Linked DNA regions of Homo sapiens: region 2 is linked to region 1. Evidence: promoter capture Hi-C in human tissues and cell types (Jung and others, 2019). All regions are on one chromosome and are shown on one strand. The core of a region is centred on a gene start or on the middle of the fragment in contact, and the rest is flanking DNA. Distances in the headings are between cores, read along the strand shown. Region 1 holds the start of STARD9 (StAR related lipid transfer domain containing 9). Region 2 overlaps STARD9 (StAR related lipid transfer domain containing 9).

What was found. The method cuts DNA at HindIII sites, captures the fragments that hold promoters and counts their contacts. A contact is called where the count stands out against the background at its distance.
Region 2: a fragment that was not itself captured here is called in contact with the fragment with the promoter of STARD9 in region 1 in 1 of the 25 tissues and cell types used here (bladder).

Annotation. Positions count from the first base shown.
Region 1 is chr15:42,573,160-42,578,678 of GRCh38, forward strand. It overlaps STARD9 (StAR related lipid transfer domain containing 9), which reads left to right and starts at 2,447. Exons shown (of 33, transcript NM_020759.3): 1 at 2,447-2,603. The coding sequence starts at 2,557. It also overlaps the pseudogene EIF4EBP2P2. RefSeq lists silencers at 1,955-2,584, 4,565-4,624. The HindIII fragment of the contact is 9,099 bases long and covers 1-5,519 here.
Region 2 is chr15:42,634,978-42,640,496 of GRCh38, forward strand. STARD9 (StAR related lipid transfer domain containing 9) reads left to right here. Exons shown (of 33, transcript NM_020759.3): 5 at 2,930-2,962; 6 at 3,049-3,110; 7 at 3,723-3,835. Among named protein-coding and RNA genes, the nearest start is that of STARD9, 62 kb to the left of the region's middle. The HindIII fragment of the contact is 7,138 bases long and covers 1-5,519 here.

The sequences.
Region 1 (5,519 bases), core at 1,197-3,696:
TTTTATAGTTTATTTTTATTTTTTAATTTGTGTAGAGATGAGGTCTCACCATTTTGCCCAGGCTGGTCTCAAACTACTAGGCTCAAGCAATACTCCTACCTTGGCCTCCCAAAGTGCTGGGATTACAGGCGTGAGCCACTGTGCCCGGCCCTGAAATGTCTTTTTATCTCATATTGAAAATGCAGCTTTTGGCAAGGTGCAGTGACTCATGCCTGTAATCCCAGCACTCTGGGAAGCCGAGGTGGGCAGATCACCTGAGGTCAGGAGTTTGAGACCAGCCTGGCCAACATGGTGAAACCCCATCTCCACTGAAAATACAAAAATTAACCAGGCATGGTGGTGCACAGCTGTAATCCCAGCTACTCGGGAGGCTGAGGCAGAAGAATCGCTTGAACCCAGGAGGCAGAGGTTGCAGTGAGCTGAGATAGTGCCACTGCACCCCAGTCTGGGCAACAGAGCAAGACTCTGTCTCAAACAACAACAACAACAACAAAACAACCAAAAACACACAACAACAACAACAAACAGAAAATGAAGCTTTTATGTGGGTACAGGATTGCTGTAAGAAAAACATACCTGGCCAGCGTGGTGGCTCACACCTGTAATCCCAACACTTTGGGAAGCAGAGGTGGTCAGATTGCCTGAAGTCAGGAGTTCAAGACCATTCTGGCCAACATGGTGAAACCCCGTCTCTACTAAAAATACAAAAAAATTAGCTGGGTGTGGTGGCACACGCCTGTAATCCCAGCTACTCGGGAGGCTGAGGCAGGGGAATTGCTTGAACCAGAGAGTTGAAGGTTGCAGTAAGCCAAGATCGCGCCACTGCACTCCAGCCTGGGCGACAGAGTGAGACAACATCTCAAAAAAAAAAAAAAAAAAAAAAAAAAAAAAAAGGAAAACATACCTATCTATATACCTATATACTCTTAATATGATTTGAGAACAAGCAAAGTCATTATATGACAACTTGAAGCAAAAGGAAGGTGAAGGATCCAAACAATTTTATGCCAGTAAGGGATGATTTGATAAATTTGGAAAGGTTTGGTTTAAAATATGTCAAGATAACAAGAGAAGCAGCTTCTGCTGACCAAGAGGGAGCAAATGAGTTCCTAGACACCATTAAGGAAATAATTGAGAAGAAAGGGTATCTGCCTGAACAGCTTTTCGGTGCATATGCAAGTTCCCTATTCTGGAAAAATAAATGCCACAAAGGACATTTATTAGTAAGGAAGAGAAGCAAGCACCAGGATTTAAGGCAGGAAGGGATACGCTAATATTTTGTGCAAATGCAGTTGGGTTTATGATCAGCACTGCCCTTATCTATATGGCTGCTAACCCTCAAGCCTTGAAGGGAAAAGATAAACACCAGCCACCTGTCTTTTGGTTGTACAAGAAGACCTGGACAATAACCCTTTATCTGAATTGGTTCCATCTATGCTTTGTCCCTGATGTCAGGAAGTACCTTGCCAGTAAGGGACTGCCTTCTATTTTTTTATTTTATTTTTTTTAGACAGGGTTTTGCTCTGTCGCCCAGGCTGAAGTACAGTGGCGCGATCCAGGCTCACTGCAGCCTCCGCCTCCAGGGTTCAAGTAATTCTCCTGCCTCAGCCTCCCGGGTAGCTGGAATTACAGGCGCACGCCAACAGGCCCGGCTAATTTTCGTATTTTGAGTACAGACGGGGTTTCACCAGGTTGGTCAGGCTGAACTCGAACCCCTGACCTCAGGTGATCTCGCTTCAGCCTCCCAAAGTGCTGGGATTACAGACGTGAGCCACTGCACCCGGCCTGCCTCGAAAATTTAACCACAGAATTGACAGTTCAAGCGAACGCAGAGAATAAAAGTATTTAGCAAATTACTTTGCAAACTTTCGGACCAAAAGTTGATTTACTTGACTTTACATAGCACGGACACCTAGTCGAGGAACAAAAACTATTTCTGGGTAAGCGGGGCCAGGAACAACAGACTTAGCACTGAGTCCTCGCGGCCCACTCGGCTCAGGATTGGCTGAAGCTGGGCCGGCACTGCTGGGCCCGGTGCGGCACGCGCATGGGTGGGGGCGTCCCAAGAGGCTGTAGGGCGGAGCGAGGCGGGGCGAGCCCGGGCGTCCTCCCGCCCACCGACTAGCCAAGGCTCGGCGGGCACCACCCAGCTCGGGATGCAGCGCGTGTTTGGGCGGGGGCGACCCGGGAGGCTTCGGATGGAACGAGGCGGAGCGAGCCCTGGCATCCTCCCGCCCACCAGGCTAAGGACTGGCCGAACGTCCACACGGGCCCGCCTGCTCTGGCTGCGGCGCGTGTTTGGGCGGGGGCGAGTCAGGAGGCTTTAAGGAGGATTGAGGGGAGGCGGGGCCGGGAGTTCTCCCGCCCACCGGGCTCAGGATTGGCCGAAGCTAGGCAGGCACCGCCCCGCTCGGGCGGCAGCTCGCGTCCGCGCGGCGGCGTCCCCAGAGGCGCGTGGGGCGGGCGGGGCTGGGTTGGGGCTGTGTCTGGGCTTAGGGCGGGGGCCTGGGATGCTGCCGCTGAGCTGACCCGCTGGACTTGGGTTGTGGCAGACGGATGGCGAACGTGCAGGTCGCCGTGCGGGTCCGGCCGCTCAGCAAGAGGTGAGTCTCCGCGGGAGAGGGCGCCTGAGGCTTCACAGGAGCTGAAAAGAGCGGGAGGTCCGCGTCTCCCCCTGCAGAGATTCTGGCGCGCAGAAATCGGTGACAAAGTGACCCGGGGGGTCGGGGTCCGGAATCCACGGAGGCCTGGCGGGACGGGACCTCAGTCGAGCTTTCGCGTTGTGTCCTGGGGATAGCGGTTCCCGGACGGCCGCGGGAGGGCTGCCCTGGGTGAGCGTCGCTGGCGTCCTGCCAGCAGGAGTTTCGAGGGACGGCGGCTCGAGGCTTGCTGCATCGGGTTGGGCCTTTGAGAAAGGCTGGGAGAGGGATGAGCATTCTCCTCTCTCTTTCTGGGGGCTTGGGAGTACCCATGAGGACTGAGGCTGAATGGTGTGTGTTTCTGGGTGCGCGTGGGCTTCTCTGCGAAGATGTGGAGAAAGCAGAAGGTGAGGGCGTGAGGGGGAAATTGAGGCCGACACAGGTCGCGGTTTCTTTCTATGCTCGACAGCTGATTTAATCCAGGACGGAACTGTTAAGTAGGGGAAGTTGTTCCAACCCCTTCTTTCTCTCAGAGCCCTCAGTGCCCGTTTTCTCGTGGCTTATTTTGATTCCGCACCTCTCATCTCAGCCCTTGAGACATCCAGTGTGCAGCCACGAACTTTTTTCTCTTTGTCACCAGATGAAGTGTTTTTTAAAGATCAATTAGAGTTTGTTGACAGGTGGAGAGAGTTTAAAGAGCCTTCTATGTAGTAAGACCGCCAAGAGCAAAGGACTTAGACTGTAAGGGACTAACTAGAGGTTAAGTTTTGGTGGGGAAAGGGTGGTTGGTGTGGAGGGAAGTGAGTGGTGGAAGGTAAATCTGGCAGAGGGTGCTTTGGGGACCAGGAGGCACATGTTGGAATTATTTGGCAAGTTTAAAAATCTCTGGGACATAAGATAGCTTGATAATTGGGCAGAAGGATCAAGAAAGGTATCGTCTCCCATAATAAAATTGGGTACTAGTGTGGATTATGTTCGTCCTCATATAGAAATGATTGGCTTTGAAAAGTCTTGTAATTGACAGACTAATGAGAAGAGCAATGAGATAGAAAGAAACAAAAAGTTAAAGAGAATAGGAAGAAGGCAAAAGAGGTACACTGAAGAAAGAGGGAAAGCAGATGCCTGACCTGCTGCGTTTTGATTGGTAAATGGCTTGTGACACCTGGCTTCTTCATAACTGGATGTGGTAGCTCAGGGCTGGGGGGGGTTTTATAAGTGCAGATGCTATGCTGGAGGTAGTCTCTGGTATATTCTGTATTTGTGAAACTGTTCTTTTAGGGTTCTCAGGATAACAGTATTGACCACTCCTAACATTCAGTAACTTCTCAGTTCCTTGGACACTAGGAATTTCTTTCTTTTTTCTTTTTTTTTTTGAGATGGAGTCTCGCTCTGTCGCCCAGGCTGGCGTTGAGTGGCGCGATCTCGGCTCACTGCAAGCTCCGCCTCCCGGGTTCACGCCATTCTCCTGCCTCAGCCTCCCCAGCAGCTGGGACTACAGGCACCCGCCACCATGCCCGGCTAATTTTTTGTATTTTTAGTAGAGATGGGGTTTCACTGTGTTAGCCAGGATGGTCTCGATCTCCTGACCTCGTGATCTGCCCGCCTGGGCCTCCCAAAGTGCTAGGATTAGAGGCGTGAGCCACTGCGCCCAGCCGGACACTAGGAATTTATAATAGCATGAATTAGATTAAGAAAATGATGCTGAAATTGGTTTACTTGCAGCCACAGTAGAGAATAACATACCAAACAAAAGTGAAGGGAAAATGAAAGCACAATTTATTTACTTTCAGCTCAAGTTAAGAGCCTTGAGCAGCAAGTGGTAGGATGTCAAGACTGTAGATACCCAGGTGTGAACAGATTGTAGCAGGCTGAAGATTCAGGAGCAGATACAGATAAACCCAGTGTGGCCCCAGCCAAGAGGTCCGGATCACTTCCCTCTTCTCACAGAATCCTGCAGAGATGGCAGCTGTTCTTCAGGGGGTGTTATACTGTCTTCATTGAGGCTTATCTGAATGTGGGGAATCTGGTGATTATGTGGTTTGTTCCAACCTTCAAATAAGTCATTGGCACACACTCAGTTGACAGTCATTGGATCTGATGTTGTGCTTGGGAAGAAATCTTACAGATGATCTGGCCCAAGCTTCTATTTTTTGTTTTTCCAGATGACAGAATGGTTTGGCTTAAGTTCTAAAAGTAGTAAGAGCCAAGATTTGATTCATTAGACCTACTGCTCTTTCTGAGATTACAGAAAAGTTGCATTTGTGTCTCAAGTGCCTATTTATTCAGTAGGACTAGAGTTGACGCTCAATTTTTTTTTTTTTTTTCTTTTGGAGATGGAGTCTCACTCTGTCACCCAGGCTGGAGTGCAATGGCGCGATCTCAGCTCACTGAAACCTCCGCCTCCTGGGTTCAAGCGATTCTCCTGCCCCAGCCTCCTGAGTAACTGGGATTATAGGCGCCTGCCACCATACCTAGCTGATTTTTGTATTTTTAGTAGAGACGGGGTTTCACCATGTTGGCCAGGCTGGTCTCAAACTCCTGACCTCACCTGCCATGGCCTCCCAAAGTGCTGAGATTATAGGCATGAGCCACCACGCCCAGCCTGACCCTCAATAAAATGATACTGCTGTATAGGAAATGGTTTTGATGTCCTCCCCTCTACCTCACAGTTTCCCATAATCAGAAATTGCATATCTCATTATGAAATTGCTGCCCTTTGTCTACTCCAATTAACCATTATGAGAACACATCTGATCTGCCAATACTGTAGGCTCTAGAAGACTATTTGCCCTGTCAAAACTTACTCTTTACCCACTGTATAGCTTTGTTTTTTTTTTTTTTTAAAGTTTTTCCAAGAATATGTAAAATGAGATTTGGAGT
Region 2 (5,519 bases), core at 1,046-3,545, 62 kb after region 1:
TATTACAATGATATATATTCCTAATGCCACAGCAAGCCTGAACCTTGCATTGTCCTTACTACTGTGAGACAGAATATGATTTCTGTAGGCAGTCAACTTTAAAGAAGATTGAATGAGCCTTCTTCTGTTTTAAGAATGAGTTTTTCGGCTGGGCGCAGTGGCTCACGCCTGTAATCCCAGCACTTTGGGAGGACAAGGTGGGAACCCGGGAGGCGGAGCTTGCTGTGAACTGAGATCGTGCCATTGCACTCCAGCCTGGGCAACAAGAGCAAAACTCCATCTCAAAAAAAAAAAAAAATGAGTTTTTCAGCATTTAATTGGAAGGTAACCTTTGAATAATTAACCCTTATTTATTTATTTATATATTTTTGAGACGCAGTCTTGCTCTGTCGCCGAGGCTGGAGTGCAGTGGCGCAATTTCAGTTCACTGCAAGCTCCGCCTCCCGGGTTCACGCTATTCTCCTGCCTCAGCCTCCAGAGTAGCTGGGACTACAGGCACCCGCCACCACGCTTGGCTAAGTTTTTGTATTTTTAGTAGAGACGGGGTTTCACCGTGTTAGCCAGGATGGTCTCAATCTCCTCATCTCGTGATCTGCCCGCCTCGGCCTCCCAAAGTGCTGGGATTACAGGCATGAGCCACCATGCCCGGCCTTAACCCCTCTTTATTAAACCCTGAAGAGCCTTAGAATTTTACAGCTCCCTTTGACAAAGCAGTTCTTGTCAGTCCTGCTGAATTTCTACTTATCTCCAGGTTCATTATTTGGATCTGTTTTGCACCTTTGTTGTGGACAAGACCTGGACTAAATCTTAAGTGCATGCTAGAGCTGTGCAGAGATTTGATTATTGTGGCCAAGCTCCAAGCCTACATGTGTTAGATCTGTGTGTTGGAAGAAAGCAGGAGAACTAGCTCCTGAGTCAGGGGCTTTCAAAAGTATGCAGGATTTAATGAGAGGCTTCCTTTATCACAGAAAATCAGGAGGGCAGAGTTGCTTAAGAATACCTTTTTGTTTTGGGTTTAGAAATATCCTGGTCAGGGTGCCAGGTGTAGTAGCTCACACCTATAATCTCAACACTTTGGGGTGGCTGAGGCAGAAAGATCTCTTAAGCCCAGGAATTTGAGAACAGTCTAGGCAACATAGGGAGACTCCATCTCTACAAAAAATACAAAAGTTAGCTGGGTGTGGGGGCACATCCTGTGGTCCCAGCTACTTAGGAGGCTGAGGTGGGAGGATGGCTTCAGCCTGGGAGGTTGAGGCTGCAGTGATTAGCCATGATCTTGCCACTGTACTCCACCCTGGGCAACAGAGTAAGAGACCCTGTCTCAGCTGGGTGGGGTGGCTCATTCCTGTAATACCAGCACTTTGGGAGGCTGAGGCGGGCAGATCACAAGGTCAGGAGTTCGAGGCCAGCCTGGCCAATATGGTGAAACCAAGTCTTTACTAAAAATACAAAAATTAGCCAGACATGGTGGCGTGCGCCTGTAATCCCAGCTACTTGGGAGGCTGAGGCATGAGAATCGCTTGAACCCAGGAGGGAGAGGTTGCGGTGAGCTGAGATTGTGCCATTGCACTCCAGCCTGGGAAATGGGACGAGACTTTGTCTCAAAAAAATAAATAAAAAGAGACCCTGTCTCTAAAAGTATATATGTCCTGTTAGGTGGGTAACAAATAAACACTACACAGGGACATTCTATAGGACATGATTCCTCTTAGATGATTATCCCTGATGCCTTGGGCCTAGCTCATTGCTCGCTTTGTCCTGTGTTTAGTGTGATTTCATAGTATTTGACATTAAAAGAAGAATTGGGGCTGGGCATGTTGGCTCACACCTATAATCCCAGTACTTTGGGAGGCTAAGGCAGGCGGATCACCTGAGCTCAGGAGTTCAAGACCAGCCTGGCCAACGTGGTGAAACCCCATCTCTACTAAAAATACAAATTAGCCAGGTGTGGTGGTGGGTGCCTGTACTCCCATCTACTTGGGAAGCTGAGGCAGGAGAATTCCTTGAACTCGGGAGATGGAGGTTGCAGTGAGCCGAGATCATGCCATTGCACTCCAGCCTGGGCAACAAGAGTGAAACTCCATTTCAAAAAAATAATAATTAAAAAAAAAAAAAGAAATTGGCCACTAAACGAAAAGTATAAAGCCCTTAACCGAGTACAAGTTAGCACTGGATACAAGATGGGAAAAGAAACTACCTCTTTCTAAATGTGTTTTTTTGCTGTTGTTGTTTTTGTTGTTTTGTTTTGTTTTTGAGATGGGGTCTCACTCTGTTACCCAAGCTGGAGTGCAGTGGCACGATCTCAGCTCATTGCAGCCTCTGCCTCCTGGGTTCAAGTGATCCTCCCACCTTAGCCTCCCGATTAGCTGAGACCATAGGCACACGCCACCATGCCTGGCTAATTTTTTTGTATTTTTAGTAGAGACAGGGTCTCCGCAGGTTGCCCAGGCTTGTCTCTAACTCCTGAGCTCAAGTGATCCACCCACCTCGGCCTCCCAAAGTGCTGGGATTACAGGGGTGAGCCACCACACCTGGTCTAAATGTGTATTTTGAATACTCATATACTCTTGTCCGCCTGTAAGGACTGGAGGTATAGGGGGCTGGGGGAACATTGGTAAAGTGTTTTTATCCAAGAATAATGTAATCTTCATTGCATAAAAGCAGGTATCTGGGTTTGCCGGCTTCTCCTCTTTTCCTTCTTATGGTGATACATATTCCTCTCATTTGGTACATTTCTCCCATGAGTGTCTCTCAGAGCACTGGCACATAAAAGTCTTCTATATTCCCCAGTGAAACTGCCTGGAGTGAAGAGGCTAGCACAAGGAGTCCATGCACTCATCCCCCATGCTGAGGATGGTTCCTGGGTATTCTGTGGGGGAGAGCATCATCTTAAGTAAACAATAATGCTTTCCTTTCTTCTGTTCACCAGGCCTCTGTTGGGTTGACACCACGGATATGTGAGGTATAGACTATCTTTTGGCTGGATCCTCTCAAAGTAGGTCTCTCTACAATTCCTACAATGAAACCCCAACCCTCTGGTTTGTGCAGGGTCTCTTCGTCAGGGAGAAAGACTGTGCCTCACTGCCTTCCTCCTGTAGGATAAAAGTAAGGTAAGAACCTCCCAAGCTCTGGGACCTACAGTAGTTCTTCTTCTACTCCAAATTCTACCATGTTCAGCTGTCCTCTCTTTGCTTCCAGAGTCACCACAGGGATGGAGAAAAGCCACAGAAGAAATATCTTGCAGTACAAGAGCTGAGAAAGATACTTAGGCCCTTGGTTGTAGGAAACTTAATTTCCTACCCATAGACTTAACAAGCAGGTCTTTCCTTCTGTGGCCCAACTTACCCTGGCTGTCTAGTAGCCCTTGAGATGCCTTCACAGAACAATAGAGCTCAACGGTCATGTTTGAAATTCACTCAAGAAACAACCTCTGTGGCTGGGTGCGGTGAATCTGGGAGGCGGAGGTTGCAGTGAGCCAAGATTGTGCCACTGCACTCCAACCTGTGAGACAGAGCGAGACTCTGTCTCAAAAATAAAAAATACAAAAAACTCTATTGTATATGTATGGAAAGAGAATCAAGGGGGAACCTTGGCTTGATCATTGCCTTAGAGTGTCAGAAGTGGAGCTGGAACAAGAACTAAGACCTCCTGATTTTTAGCTCAATGTTGTTTCTACTTTTTTTCAAAATATAATTATGTTGCCTTTTTCTACTTAACTCTAGTTTTCTAGAAATCTATAATGAACGGGTGCGGGATCTGTTGAAGCAATCTGGTCAAAAAAAGTCCTATACCCTGCGGGTCAGGGAGCATCCAGAGATGGGGCCCTATGTACAAGGTGAGCTACTGTGGTCCTGGAGATCTGAAACCAAACTGAAGCCTGGGAAGCTCTCCTAATGTTCCCTAATTCATTGAACATAGGTGTAATGAACACTTATCGTGTGCCAGCTACTGTACTAGACACTGAATATGTATTGATAAATAGAGAAGACGTGGTCCTGCCCTCAGGCAAGCTTACAATCTAGTGGGTGTGAGTCAGGAAACAAACAATTACAAGTAGTGATAAAGGTTAATAAATAAATGGATGTCAATGGCAAAGAACGTTGGAAAGTGTTGGTGGCCCACCTGTATGAGGTGATCAGGAAGAGCTTCTCTGAGGAGGAAACGTTTAAGCTGAGACCTGAAAGGAGTATAGTCGTGTGAAGAATGACGTAACGTGGTGAGAAGTGTTTCAGGAAGAGGGAGTGGAATGGACTAGAGCCCTGGGAGAAGGCTTGATGTTTTCAAGGGGCCAGTGTGGCTAAAGCATGGTGAATGAGAGGGAAAACTGTAGGGAATGTGGTGGGGTCTGCAGGCGCCCAATATGGCATGGCCTCTACTGGTTCCCTGGTAAACCAGTCCCCTTTCTCTGCCATTGGTGGTGGTAGTCAGACATCAGACATGGGGTAGGATTTGATGTGTTTCCTAACCAAATACTGGTGTTTGGTGCTTGGTACCATCTGTCTTATATCATTAAGGTAGGTCCTGCTATTAAGTAGCAACAGATGGGTTCTTTTATAGGCGAAGTTTTTACCCTTCCAGGCCACTTATAAGAAGTAATATATGGCCCAGGTGCAGTGGCTTACGCCTGTAATCCCAATGCTTTGGGAGGCTGAGATTGGTGAATTTGCTGGAGGTCAGGAGTTCGAGAGCAGCCTGGCCAACATGGTGAAACCTTATCTCTACTAAAAATACAAAAGATTAGCTGGGTGTGATGGCACATACCTGTAATCCCAGCTACTCGGGAGGCTGAGGCAGGATAATCACTTAAACCTGGGAGGCAGAGGTTGCAATGAGTCGAGATTGCGCAACTGCACTCCAGCCTGTGCGACAGAGCAAGACGCCATCTCAAAAAAAAAAAAAAAGTAATGTATATTTTATGTTCCTGTAGCAGTATGCTAGTTTATTTTTTATTTTTATTTTTTTAGCCACAAGGTCTTATTCTGTCACCCAAGCTGGAATGCAGTGATGCAAACATAGCTCACTGCAACCTGAACTCCTGGGCTCAAGTGATCCTTCCGCCCCAGTCTCCCAGGTAGCTAGGGCTACAGGTGTGCATCTAGGCAGCGGATTTTTAAATTTGCTGTAGAGATGGGATCTCACTATGTTGCCCAGGCTGGTCTTGAACTCCTGGCCTCAAGTGATCTTCCCACCTCAGCTTCCTAAAGTACTAGGATTATAGATGTGAGCCAGCGTGCTTGGCTGTAGTATGCTAATTTAAATCCTGATAAGGAGCGGGACATGAACATCAAGAGCCGGTCTTTTCTCTGGTCAGGGCATGGCAAATGGATGACGCAATAGGTATGCTAGTGACTGATTCTGCTACCTATGTCTTTTCCCAAATGTTTAATCATAAATAGCAGCCTAGAAACAACAACAAAAACACCATTTCCTTTGCTAGGAACCAGTTTAAGTTTGCTCTGTAAAACTCTGTGGGTATACATATCTGTGTAAAGCAATACTTTCAAGGCAGACCATGAGTT